Regions from separate parts of the Homo sapiens genome. Here region 1 is linked to region 2. The links are contacts of gene promoters, found by promoter capture Hi-C in human tissues and cell types (Jung and others, 2019). All regions are on one chromosome and are shown on one strand. Each heading gives the region's core, a stretch centred on a gene start or on the middle of the fragment in contact. The rest is flanking DNA. Distances are from core to core; before and after follow the strand shown. Region 1 overlaps MSC-AS1 (MSC antisense RNA 1). Region 2 holds the start of TRAM1 (translocation associated membrane protein 1).

The links. Contacts are between HindIII fragments. The study calls those that stand out against the background at their distance.
Region 1: a fragment that was not itself captured here is called in contact with the fragment with the promoter of TRAM1 in region 2 in 1 of the 25 tissues and cell types used here (lymphoblastoid cells).

Annotation. Positions count from the first base shown.
Region 1 is chr8:72,011,648-72,018,101 of GRCh38, forward strand. All of the region lies in intron 4 of MSC-AS1 (MSC antisense RNA 1), which reads left to right. Among named protein-coding and RNA genes, the nearest start is that of TRPA1, 61 kb to the right of the region's middle. The HindIII fragment of the contact is 5,950 bases long and covers 347-6,296 here.
Region 2 is chr8:70,604,387-70,610,018 of GRCh38, forward strand. It overlaps TRAM1 (translocation associated membrane protein 1), which reads right to left and starts at 4,030. Exons shown (of 11, transcript NM_014294.6): 1 at 3,691-4,030. The coding sequence starts at 3,813. LACTB2-AS1 (LACTB2 antisense RNA 1) reads left to right here and starts at 4,191. Exons shown (of 4, transcript NR_038881.1): 1 at 4,191-4,447. LOC124902090 (small nucleolar RNA U13) reads left to right here and starts at 146; the gene lies at 146-251. RefSeq lists silencers at 3,077-3,526, 3,547-3,726, 3,777-3,836, 3,897-3,946, 4,027-4,196. The HindIII fragment of the contact is 5,998 bases long and covers 1,380-5,632 here.

The sequences.
Region 1 (6,454 bases), core at 2,072-4,571, 1.4 Mb after region 2:
CCAATGTGCATTGTGAACACAGGAGGTAGTGGAGATAGTTAAAGTATGCAGCATTTTCTATTTTTGACTATAGTTTGCTTGATTGATTTTTTTTTTTTTTTTTTAGACAGAATCTTGCTCTGTTGCCCAGGCTGGAGTGCAGTGGTCTGATCTCAGCTCACTGCAAGCTCCGCCTCCCGGGTTGACGCCATTCTCCTGCCTCGGCCTCCTGAGTAGCTGGGACTACAGTTGCCTGCTACCACGCCCGGCTAATTTTTTGTATTTTTAGTAGAGATGAGGTTTCACCGTGTTAGCCAGGATGGTCTCGATCTCCTGATCTTGTGATCCGCCCGCCTCAGCCTCCCAAAGTGCTGGGATTACAGGCGTGAGCCACTGCGCCGGCCACTTGATTGATTTTAAATGAAGCATCCAGCAGTGTTAGTGTGAAACTTCATTAGGTAGTACTTTTCAGACCTTAACTTGCATATGAATTGCCAAGGGAACTTACTAAAATGCAAATTCTGATTTAGGAGGGAAGAGTGCCTAGGGCAGGGACCTGAGATCCTACATTTCATCTTCTTTTTTCTTCTTTTATTTGAAACAAGGTCTCACTCTGTCATCCAGGCTGAGGTTCAGTGGCATGATCACAGCTCACTGGATCCTCAAACTCCGTGGATCAGATGATCATCCCACCTCAACCTCCCAGGTAGCTGGGACTACAGGTGCATGCCACCACACCTAGCTAATTTTTTAATTTTTTTGTGGAGACGGGGTCTTGCTTTGTTGCCCAGTCTGATCTTGAACTCCTCAACTCAAGGCAATCCACCTGCTTCGGCCTCCCAAAGCTCTGGGATTACAGGCGTGAACCACCATGACTGGCCAGAGATCTTGTATGTCTAACAGGCTCTCAGAGGGTGCCCATGCTGCTGGCCCACAGGCCACACCTTGAATAGCAAGGCACTAGAACATACAAGAGTCAAGAAGAAATGGCATCTTATTGAAAGACCAAATGAGAACACTAAAACACCCTATTGACCCTCAGGACCAGCTGTTAAAGAAGCATGTTGTTCAGAGGGGTGAGGAAATAAGGGACAAACCCCCATATGATGAGCAAGTAATGAAGGAACATAGAGCTAAACTAAATAGCTGGAGTAGGGCAGGTCTTTTCAGCTGAAGTCTAGGTGGTGAATTAATTAGTGAAGGGACACAGAGATGGCTAAAGGGACCCTTGATTGCTTTGTGGACCAAAATAGCTTCATTTTTGTCATTAAAACCTAGGTTCAAGGAGAAGAGGGCAAGGCCCACTATTGGTTCAGACTTAGTTATTGTTTTCCTTCTCTATCCACAAACTCAAGTTCCATGAGTTACTAATTTTTTAAAAAACTTTTTAATTATTCAAAATGGAATATGAATGTTAGAAATTGGAAGGGAAAAATGGGGACTGACATAAAAAGAGGTTAACCTGGGTCAGGTGAGGAAGTAACGCTATACAATGTATTCAGCTATTTAAAGGCTTCAGAAATGCTCGTATCTTTTACAGACTGATCTTCCTGACTTCATCTGGTCCCTGCTTTGACCTGGAAACTTAGCTTGGGTACCTGTGTTTCTCCAGCAGTGGCTGTTCTCTGCTGGTGCCTTGTCCTAGCAGACTCTTCTCTCCTAGTTCCTTGGCAACAGTGTTCTAATAACCTTTGCGGGTCACACAGTTCCTAAGTGTGGAGCTGGGATTAGGCTAATGGAGGTGTTATAAGACTCTCCAACAATATATTCATCAATGATTCACTTCTACTAATTATAACTCGACATATTTTGGTAACTTATTGAAAGCAAAAAGGTTAATAACTCATGACTTCCTTGTAGGTCAAATCTTTGTCCGTGTAAAGCAATAATTTTGCCTAATTTTATATTTTTTCCCTTGCATTCTTTGGGTTAAGTTCATTTTGTCACTCCTGCTCTTTATATTTGTATATTTATTTGTTCATCTTTCTATAATACTAGTTTAGATTATTCTCTAGCGATTACATTTTTTTAACCCAGAAAGGAAGTATTGTGTTTTTTACTGAAGTTTAGATTGGTTGTCAGAACTCATAGATTTTATTTTACTTGTGTAGTCTTGTTCATGTTTTTGCATTTTTGTAGGTCTTGATGTTTTCTTTTACTTAATTTTTTAAGCTTTTCTTATATTGCCTGTTTTGTTTCTTTTTATCTTTTTTCCCATGTACTAATACATACTTATTTTGTTTAAATTATATTCTTGATTTCTGAACAATTAAAAAAAGAAATTATCCACCCTATATTTTTTAGTTACAAGTATGTTATGAAGCAGTATCTTTAATTTGAATAGAATTGAGTCCTTGCTAAGAAAAATGAATGAGATAAGGTATTTCATCTTCTGTTCACCACTCGTACCTGTGAAAGCCAAACAGCCTGACTTTTTATAGCTGTCAGTGATCAATACTGAAGATATAATCTGTCATTACAAAGCAGCTGGCTTGGGCTTTGAAATGTAAACAGTGATAATTTATGAACGGGTTAGTCATTTTCCCATAAACATCTGCCCATGTACCCTGTGTTGTAATACATTCATGCTATTGCGTTCCTTGTCTGTTGTAACATTCGTTGATTAGTAAATATTTATAGATGTCTCTTGTAACAAAGTTTGGCTTTGGGCATGATCAGTTAAAAATAAATTTTAAAATATCATAAAACAACTATGTAGTGCCCAAGAAGACCTTAGAAAATATTCTTTTCTTCATGTTTCTGCCCTGTGTTGTATTGGTCTTGTCTTATCTGGTAGAATTGTCATACATGTCAAATGGGGAGCCTCATTATGATGAAAAATGAAACAAAGGGTGCTTTTTTTCCATTACCCTATACCCTGAAATAGCCAAAATATACACATATGGCACCAGAAGAACAGGGAGTTTGCCTTTTTCTAGCTTGTTTTAAAAGTGCAGTGCAGACAAGCTAAATCCAGCTGGGAATTCTGTGGGTCACACGCATTAGGCGGTGCAGAATTGAAACCTCTGTCTAGAGCAGACTCTCAGAAGATTTACATGCAAGGTTAAGCTAGCATATTTTTGTTTGTGTTGCCTTAAATCTTCTCCTTTGAAGGTTATGATAGCTGCTCAGTGACTAAGTGGTTATTTTTTTAAATCAGTGATACATTCGTTGTTTAGAAGGTATCTAATACTTCTTGTCTTAATAAAAATGTTAATAACAGATGAAACTCTGTATATTAGCATATCTCAAGTGTATAATCCTAGTTTGCTATTTACCCATCTGATTTGTGTAACATTATACTGTCATTTAAAATATACTTTTAAAGCCAGATTTTACATTTCAAGTTATCTTTAGTAATAACTCTCAGTACACTCACTTGTAAATAGTTGCTATAAACTATTCACTTGTAAATAGTTGCTTTTCAGACTGTAAAAATATATTTACTCATCCCTGTAAGCTTAAATTTTGCAGCTAATTACTATTTTCTGATACTTTATGTATATATACATATATTTTTTCTTGAAAATTATTTCCAAAAATAATTATTTAAATGCAAATCATAACAATAAATGAAAACATTTAAAACACGTACTTATTTTTGTAATTGCCATTCTAAATAATTTAATCAAAATACCCCCATTCTGATTTCTTTCCCATTCATCTTTTCCAAGAAGTTAAGAACCTGAATTTTAAAAAACACTGTACCCAAGCAGCAAAACTGTGCCAAACTTGAAAGGCCGACCCCACCTTTTGGCTCTATTGACCCTAATACTTTTCCAATTAAAGAAAAACTTAACAAAAAATAGAATGCAATGACTACTTTAAGCCACTTGGCACTTTGGGGCTTTATTCTGTTTTCAAACTGGCATATGATAATTGAATTTTCTTGGGGAAAACTCAAAGCAGCAATCCAGCTTTTTCGAGATACTCCACTTGATGAATCTCCACTCCCAAAGAACATCAGTGAAGCCCTCGTGGTATTATCTTTGTTAACAAAGAGTCACCACATTTTGATGATTCTCATTCTAAGTGCTAAGACTTAAAATGGCAATATAAAACATAGCTCAAAATGTTTTAGTAGAACTTAGCTTTATCTCTTGTTGACTTTTCTTTACAGTTAAAAAATATAGAAACCACTTTAAAAGCATGCAAAAAAAAGCATGTCCCATAAGCAATTTACTTCATATTGTGAAATTAACATGTTCCATATTTCAAAGGTTTGACAAAGCTCTGTGCGTTGTCATTGACTAATTGATGGAAACTTTCAAAATCTCTGATCCTCTGGCTGGTTATTTACTGACAGTGTCCTTTATGGGCTTGTGTCTTCTGCATTTCAAGGACTCATGTGGCAGCATAGAAACAAAGGATGTTAAAAGGTACAGTCAGATCCTGCACACTGGGTGTTAAGTTTACAGTAATTTGGATGAGTGAAGGGCCATTTCATTATCTTATCAACTGAGAAGGAATGGCAGAGCTGACCACTAGACTGGGATGCTATAGAGGTTTTAGGGGCACAACTTGGTTTTATACTTGGGAATGAGACAGGAGTTCAGCAGGACTTGTTTCACAAGATACGAATCACAAAGACCTTGCTGGTAAAACAGGATGCAATAAAGAAGCCAGCCAAAATCTGCCAAAACCAAGATGGCAACAAAAGTGACTTCTGGTCATCCTCACTGCTCATTATATGCTAATTATAATACATTAGCATACTAAAGGAAGAGCCCACTGGTGTCACAACAGTTTACAAATGCCATGGTAACATCTGGAAGTTAACCTATATGGTCTTTCAGTGGGAGGAGCCCTCAGTTCTGGGAATCCCCTGCTCCTTTCTCAGGAAACTCATGAATAATCCACCCCTTATTTATCATATGATCAAGAAATAACCATAAAAATAGCCAATCAGCAGCCCTTAGGGCTGCACTGCCTATAGAGTAACCACTCTTTTATTCCTTTACTTTTTAATAAACTTGCTTTCACTTTACTCTATTGGCTTGCTCTTGAATTTTTTCCTGCAGAAAGCCAAAAACCCACGTGGCCTCCTGGGGTGAGTCCCACTTTCAGCATTTGCCCTGCGACAAGTAAAAAGACTATTTGATTTAATAAATCCTCCATCTTATTTAAATTTGGGTGATTTTAGCATATTTATAATTGGGAAAGTTTTCAAAGTGATACAGGATGGTGATAAATGCACACATGTTTACAATTCAGTATTACAGCTCTCCAAGAGTTTTCTGGTTTCTTTTACCACACTCAGAATTTGAAAGGCAACCATCTGGGTCATGAAGATGCTTGCTGATCAACTGCTGGGGTAGAAGAGACTGCTGCAGTAGAAGAGACTTTAAGTCCCTTGCTGAAGACTGCAGTCTGGCTTACTGGTTTTAGTTATTTGCACTACCTAACCTGTATCTCAAGGACTGTGGACACCATACAACATCACAGAAAACTTGATGCTTGGAGGTTTATCGGATTATGAAAGATGTTGTGTCTGCCTGTGGTATCCTGAAAGTACAGATACCTGCAGTCTTGAACCTCAACTTCTGGATTATTTCGATTATGAATTCTTTAGACAGTTTTTTTTCTTTTTCTTTTTTATTTTTGAGACAGGGACTTGCTCTGTTGTCCAGGCTGGAGTGCAGTGGTGCAATAACGGCTCACTGAAGCCTTGACCCCGCTGAGTTCAAGTGATCCTCCTATTTCAGCCTGTTGAGTAGCTGGGACTACAGGTGCCTGCCACCATGACAGGCTATTTTTAAAATTTTTGTAGATATGGGGTCTCACTGTATTGCCCAGACTGGTCTCGAACCCCAGGACTCAAGCAATCCTCCCACCGTGGTCTCCCAAAGTGTTGGGATCATAGACATGAGCCACTTCCCCTGGCCTTAGACAGTTTTGGTTCCTTCAGAATTAATGATCTGCATCTGCAAGGCATATGGATCTCCACTGATTTACAGGGGGTTTGCCATTACTGAGTTGACTTGTAGACAGAAAAACAAACTGCCTTTGTTGAGCCATTTGACTTTTCCTCATATTTTTCCCTTTTGTGAAAGACCTTAACTGAGGATCCCTGCTTTGCCTCTGGAATATGCCTGCAGTAATGTTTGTTGAGAAATCTGAGTTTGGGAGTAACTGTTCCTGTGGGGCTGTAGAAGCTGGTTGTCATTCTAATAGATTCCTGAGCCTTGATATTGCTTCAAATTAGATTGTTGCAAGTTTAGAAGGTGCAGGTGAAGTTTTCCTTTCAGGTTTTGCTGGTACTGACACAAGCACAGACATGCTGCCCATGAGTGATAATCTCCGTCTTCTTCATCCTCTTCTCCATGAATTTTTAAAACAACCTAAATTACCACTGATAACTGTCTCTTCTGAGAGTTTTCTCCCTCAATACTTATTTTTTTCAGACTTGGTTCTGGAGAGCGGATTATGTCTTATTTAAGCTATTAAGTATTTCTGATTCACATAAAAGTATAGT
Region 2 (5,632 bases), core at 2,780-5,279:
ATCAAATTCCACTTCCAGTGGGGCTCAGTGGCACGTGCCTGTAGTCCCAGCCACTCAGGTGGCGAGAGGGGAGGATCACTTGAGCCCAGGAGGTCAAGTTCCAGCCAAGGCAACATAGCAAGACCCTGTCTCAAAAAAAAGAGAGACCCTTTTGTAGTTCACAAGTGTGATGATTGGGGTTTCACGCTTATATGTGAGATGTGTCTCTCCCTCAAACTTTGTTCTGACCTGAGCACCTTACCTGTCATAAAAAGAAAGAAAAAAAGGAAAGAAAAAAAAAACCCAAACCTTGAAAACTGTTTCAAGATTGTTGAAATTGTAAACGTCCCCAAAATCTGTATGGCATAAAGAACTTGCAGATTTTGAATATCTTTCCTTTTGAATATATTTCCTTTTGAATATCTTTCCTTTATACACTCCTTAAAAGAAATACTTCTCTTGTGAACCCCTAATTCTTCACCCCTCCTCCACATACTCACTTTCAGAAAGCTTCCCAAGCATCCCTAACATTTTTTGACCATTCAATTTTTCCTAACTCAAATATGAAGCCATTCATTGTATACTATGATTTGAATTATGTGGACAGATATTTACTGTAATAAAACTATGATTCCAAAATTTACAAGCAATTTTTGATTAATGTGAAGTTCCCTGGAAATTAAACTCTTACATTACTGCCAAACAGACTACTTTGTTAGCCTTTTCAGTATGTATAATCTCTTTAGATGCTAACTAAAGAGATTCCAGGCCCTTCTCTCACATAAAAATGCTTTCTATTTCCCAATTTTGGTGAGTTTTTAAAGAATAATAATAGCTACCACTTATTGCACACCTTTTGGAAGTCAAGTATTGAACTAGGCATAATACAAATTGGTTAATTTGTCAGAGTAACCCAATAAGCCCCATTTTACAGATGAGGAAACTTCAGTTCTGAGCTGCCCTAGGTCACCCAGTTAGCAAGCTGCAGAGCCCTAACTTGAACATGAATCCCTTCAGCTCCAGAATCCATGCTTTTACAGTGTATCTCCATTGCTTCTTCATTTTGGCTAGTAATACAGTATTTCTTTCTTTCTGAATTTCTTTGTCAATGTCACCATAAATCCTCTGACATTTCCTCAATGTATCTGCACAACAGGCTTAACAGTTCTGCAAAAAAAAATCAATTTCTCTATTATTCTAGCACAAGTACTGTAATTCTATAATTATGTTAACTTTGAGATTCAGCAGCAATTGTTTTAAAAGTCGAATAGCAAAACTAACCTAGTCTACAAAGTCCTATATATAGATAACATGCTTTGAAATCCTAACACCTTAATATATGGTAAGAAAAAGGAAGAACTCGCACAAACTTCACTTTTGTGTATCACTTTAACACTCACTTTTGAATTGACTTAAAAACCTCTATTTAGTATTTTTGTCTATTTAGATTTTCAAATTTTATAAATTTATATAAAGGTGAAAATCCACTGTTTAAAAAAATCACTAACATGTGAGGCAAGGTATAGGTGGTGGACTTCCCTAGAAATATAGTAAGAGAATGTAAAATAGTTTATATAAAATCAAAGTTATACTATGTGTCAGAATTTCTGATTTATATTTCATTTCATTCAAAGCACTGCAAATATACCTTGCAGGTCACAGTACCCCTAAAATATGTTTTTAAAGTCAGGAATTCTTACCATGTGGAGATGGTTTATGACAAGTTACAGAAAATTGAATATACTACATATATTAAAGTACTACTTTAAGGTCAAAGCAGAAAGTACATGCAAGTATCAAATTCAGAAAGTGAATACAAATGTTTAACATTGGGTTTTTTTTGAGACAGGGTCTTCTTGCTCTGTCCTTCAGGCTGGAGTGCAGTGGTGAAACCTTGGCTCACCGCAGCCTCCACCTCCTGGGCTCAAGTAATTATCCCACCTCAGCCGCCCAGCTGAGACCACAGGTGCGTGCTATCTATCACTCCTGGCTAATTTTTAAAAAATCATTTGTAGAGACAGGGTCTCCCTATGTTGCCTAGGCTGGTCTCGAACTCCTGGGCTCCAGTGATTCTCCTGCCTTGGCCTCCCAAAGTGTTGGGATGTTTACAGGCATAAGCCAGAGCACCAGGCCTAGCACTGTATTTACCTTCACACCATATCATCTGATACTTGCAAAAAATGGCTGTGAGGAGAACAGTACAGGTGATATTATTTCCTGATAAAGAGCAGAAAAATTGAGGCTCAGACTTGGGTCACCCAGTAGGTAGGTGGCACAGCCCAGACTTAAAGCTTGAGAATGTTAGTTTCCTTCTACCTACCCTTTAACTATACCTGCTACCTCCTTAGCAGTGGTTTCAAACATGCATGACACAATCAGGAGTAAATAATATCTGTATCTAGATCCAGAAAAGCCCATTTGATGAGAGGCGAAAATAAGGTTAAAATATTATTTAATTTTAAAATTAAAAAAAAAAACAAATATGCTCCATTAAAAAGAAAATGTATTCACCTTTTGGTCACTGGTAATATCATTCCATTAGGTTTTCTCAAGGATTCTTAACGTCGCTCATCTTTTTTTAAGCACTCCTATGTCCCAGGCACTATCCTAGACTCTGGAAATACAGACTCGTAAAAATACTCCAAAATCTCTACTCTCACTTGTTACATGCAGGAGAGAGGAGACAAAACAAGGCAGGAGCAAAATAATTTGTATATTTACTGAGACATAAAGGCTCCAGAGAAAAATTAAAAAGGGAAAAAAGCAAAGGAATGAGCGTGTGTATTGGGGAGCGAGGGGAAAAACGTAGGATGTTACTCGTTCACCTTGCAAAGTTTATCATCCACATTCAACAGCTGTTAAATAAGTCATCAAAATACTAGATACGTGGGAAGAGAATTTACACACTCCTGACATTCCCATCCTCTCCTACTTCAAGAAACAAAATTACTCGATTCCTTGGCACCGCTGTTCAGAACCTCGATTTATCCATCAGACCTTGTTTCTTTAAAGCGTCAGGGCAAAAAGTTCGTTAACTGGTAATAATATCAGTTTAAAAGACAAAAATGAAAACAATCTGGCGCGCCTCCACTGCGCCGGTGCCCGGCGGCCACCGCCCTTCAAGTCGAAAGCAGATGCCTGACTCCGGTTTCTCGCTCACCCCAATCTCGGAGCTACCGGGGGCTCCCCTGTCACTCGGGGCCTGTGGTCTCCAGGCCGGCACTCCTCAGACCCGGGGGCCGGGCCTCGGCCTTCCCCGGCCCTCGCGGGGCTGACGCTCACCGCGGCCGAGGCTGGCAGTCCCCCCAAGTCCGCCCACCCGCCCCGAGCCAGCTCGGCAGCGCAGGGGCCGCCCCCGCCCGCAGGCCCCTCGCCGGCTGCCACGTAACCCTTCGCGGGAACCAGGAACTGCGCCGCGCAGCCTGCGGGAGGGGGCGGCGGCGGGTCAGGAAGGGGGCGACGCGGCGGTCCCCACCCCCTGCGGGCCGCGATGAGGCCCACCGGGACTTTGCATCTCCGGGCCGGCCGCCGGGGAGCTGCCGCCGACGTGGGGCAGGGCAGGGAAGGCCTGCACCTCAGGGACTGGGGGTCTGCACCCACCCCGGGCCCGAGCCCCCCGCGTCCTGGGCGGAGAAGCCGGGGCTGGCATCTGGAGCCCGGGCCCGGGCTGGAGGTGGCGGGGCAGGCGGTTGGGACTCGGGGCGGGCTCACCTCAAACATGAGCCCCAGCAGGAAGACCATCGCCACACAGGAGACGATGTCCGCGTGATTCTGCAGGACGAATTCGTGGCTCAGCACTGGGGGGCTCTTGGTGCTTTTCTTGCGAATCGCCATGGTGGGGCCGCCGCCCGCGCCTGCAGGTGCTCCGCCCCGGTTCTGCTCTTCCCAGCTGCTCACCGACTCGCCGCCGCCTCCCGCTGGCTGCTCCTCACGGCCCCGCTGCAGCCGCTCGCTGGGGCTTCACTTCCCATCCCACAGCCAGTACGCAGCCGCCGGGCCGCCCGGGGGAAAAAAAAAAACACAACAGCTAGCCCGCAGCGGGGGCGAGCATGCGCACCAGGGAGACGACGCTCCCTGGTGCCGCGGCCGCCTCCGCGAGCCCACAGCGCCACCTGGGGACCGGAGGCCGCTGGCCCGCGGCCGGGCGAGCGTGCAGGAATGTGAGCGGCGCTTCCCTGCTTCGCGCCGGGCCCGGGTTTGGGAGTCGTTTGAGGCGCGAGCTTCCTGCGCCTGCTCAGCAGCCTGAGGCCGCGGCCGGGTGCCCTCCTGCCCTCCTGGCCATCCAGGGATTGGGTGTCAGTGGCCTGTTGCACATTGTCACTTCTACAAGTGACTAACACCGTCAGGATAATCTAAAACTACGAATACTACCTGACTCCACAAGGGTACGGTGTATTCTCCAGTTTTAGCATCTGCCTTAAAAATTACCTCAGAGTTAAGCACTGCTGGGGACTTATTTCTACTCTTGGTAAGTTTGGACTAACTTAAAAAAAAAAAAAGAGCTGACCCTATTCTGGTCTGCCTCTCCGTCCCCACCCCCATCCCCGTCCCCATCCCCACCCCTATCCCCCACTGGCCTCAGACTGAAGACGAAGGGATCAGTTTGGGTTTACTGGCTTCACATATATTCAAATTAACAACATGTTTTAGTAATCTAAGGGAAATAGTAAAAGAGTTAAAAAGGATCGTGGATTAAGACACGTCCTCCTCTTATCGTTTTGCCCAAACCTGGAGTCCTTTGTATTCTTTTTCCTGAAGAATTGCTCTCCTGTTTACCCATAAGCCAAATGTAGAAACCAAAGTCATGCTAGATTGAGCCCTTTCAGCGCCCTTCCACATCCAGTCATCACCAATTCGAGGCAGACCTATCACCCCGCTTCCCCACTACCGCAGTCCGAGGGTACTTGCCTCTTGCCTACAATATTACAACTCTGGTGTAACCACTTAGTGGTTTAAGAATGTGGGTTGTTAAATCAGAATTCTGCCACTTATTACTTGTACGATCAAGGACAAGTTACTTAATCTCTATGGGACCCGATTTCCTCATTTTTAAAAATGTATTCATTTATGTACTTACTGAGGGTTGACTGTGTCCTGGGCACTGGGGATACAGAACTGAAATACAAATTAAATTATTCCTAGGGACTTATCATTCTAGTGTGGGAGAGAATCTTTAAACAAGATTTCAAAAGCGAAACAGATGTTAAATTGAGTTGAGCAACCAGGAGAAAAATAAAGCAAGGGGAATAGGAAAGTGCGAGGCACTTATACTTGCCTGAAGACCTGCAGGAGGTGAGGGAGCAAGCCCTGTGGATATCATCTATAAAGTGGGGATAACTATTGCTCATTTTAGTGATTAAATGAGATGATTGAAGGAAACTGCTTAGCGGGGAGTAAGGGCTTTATAAATTTAGTCAGGGATTATTCTTTTCCTCCTTCTGGGCAATCACTAGTTTCATTTCCCTTCAGATCACCTTTCAACGTTTATACTAGAATGATGCTTCTACTGGCAGAAAGTTTTTCAGCGGGTTCCCTTTCCCTTCATGGAAAGCTAGCATGATGAAATAGCCCTTTCTGATTTGGTCCTTGCCTACCCCAACAGACTGGAGCCCTGCATCTACAGGCCATAATCTCTGTACCAGCATTATTGACT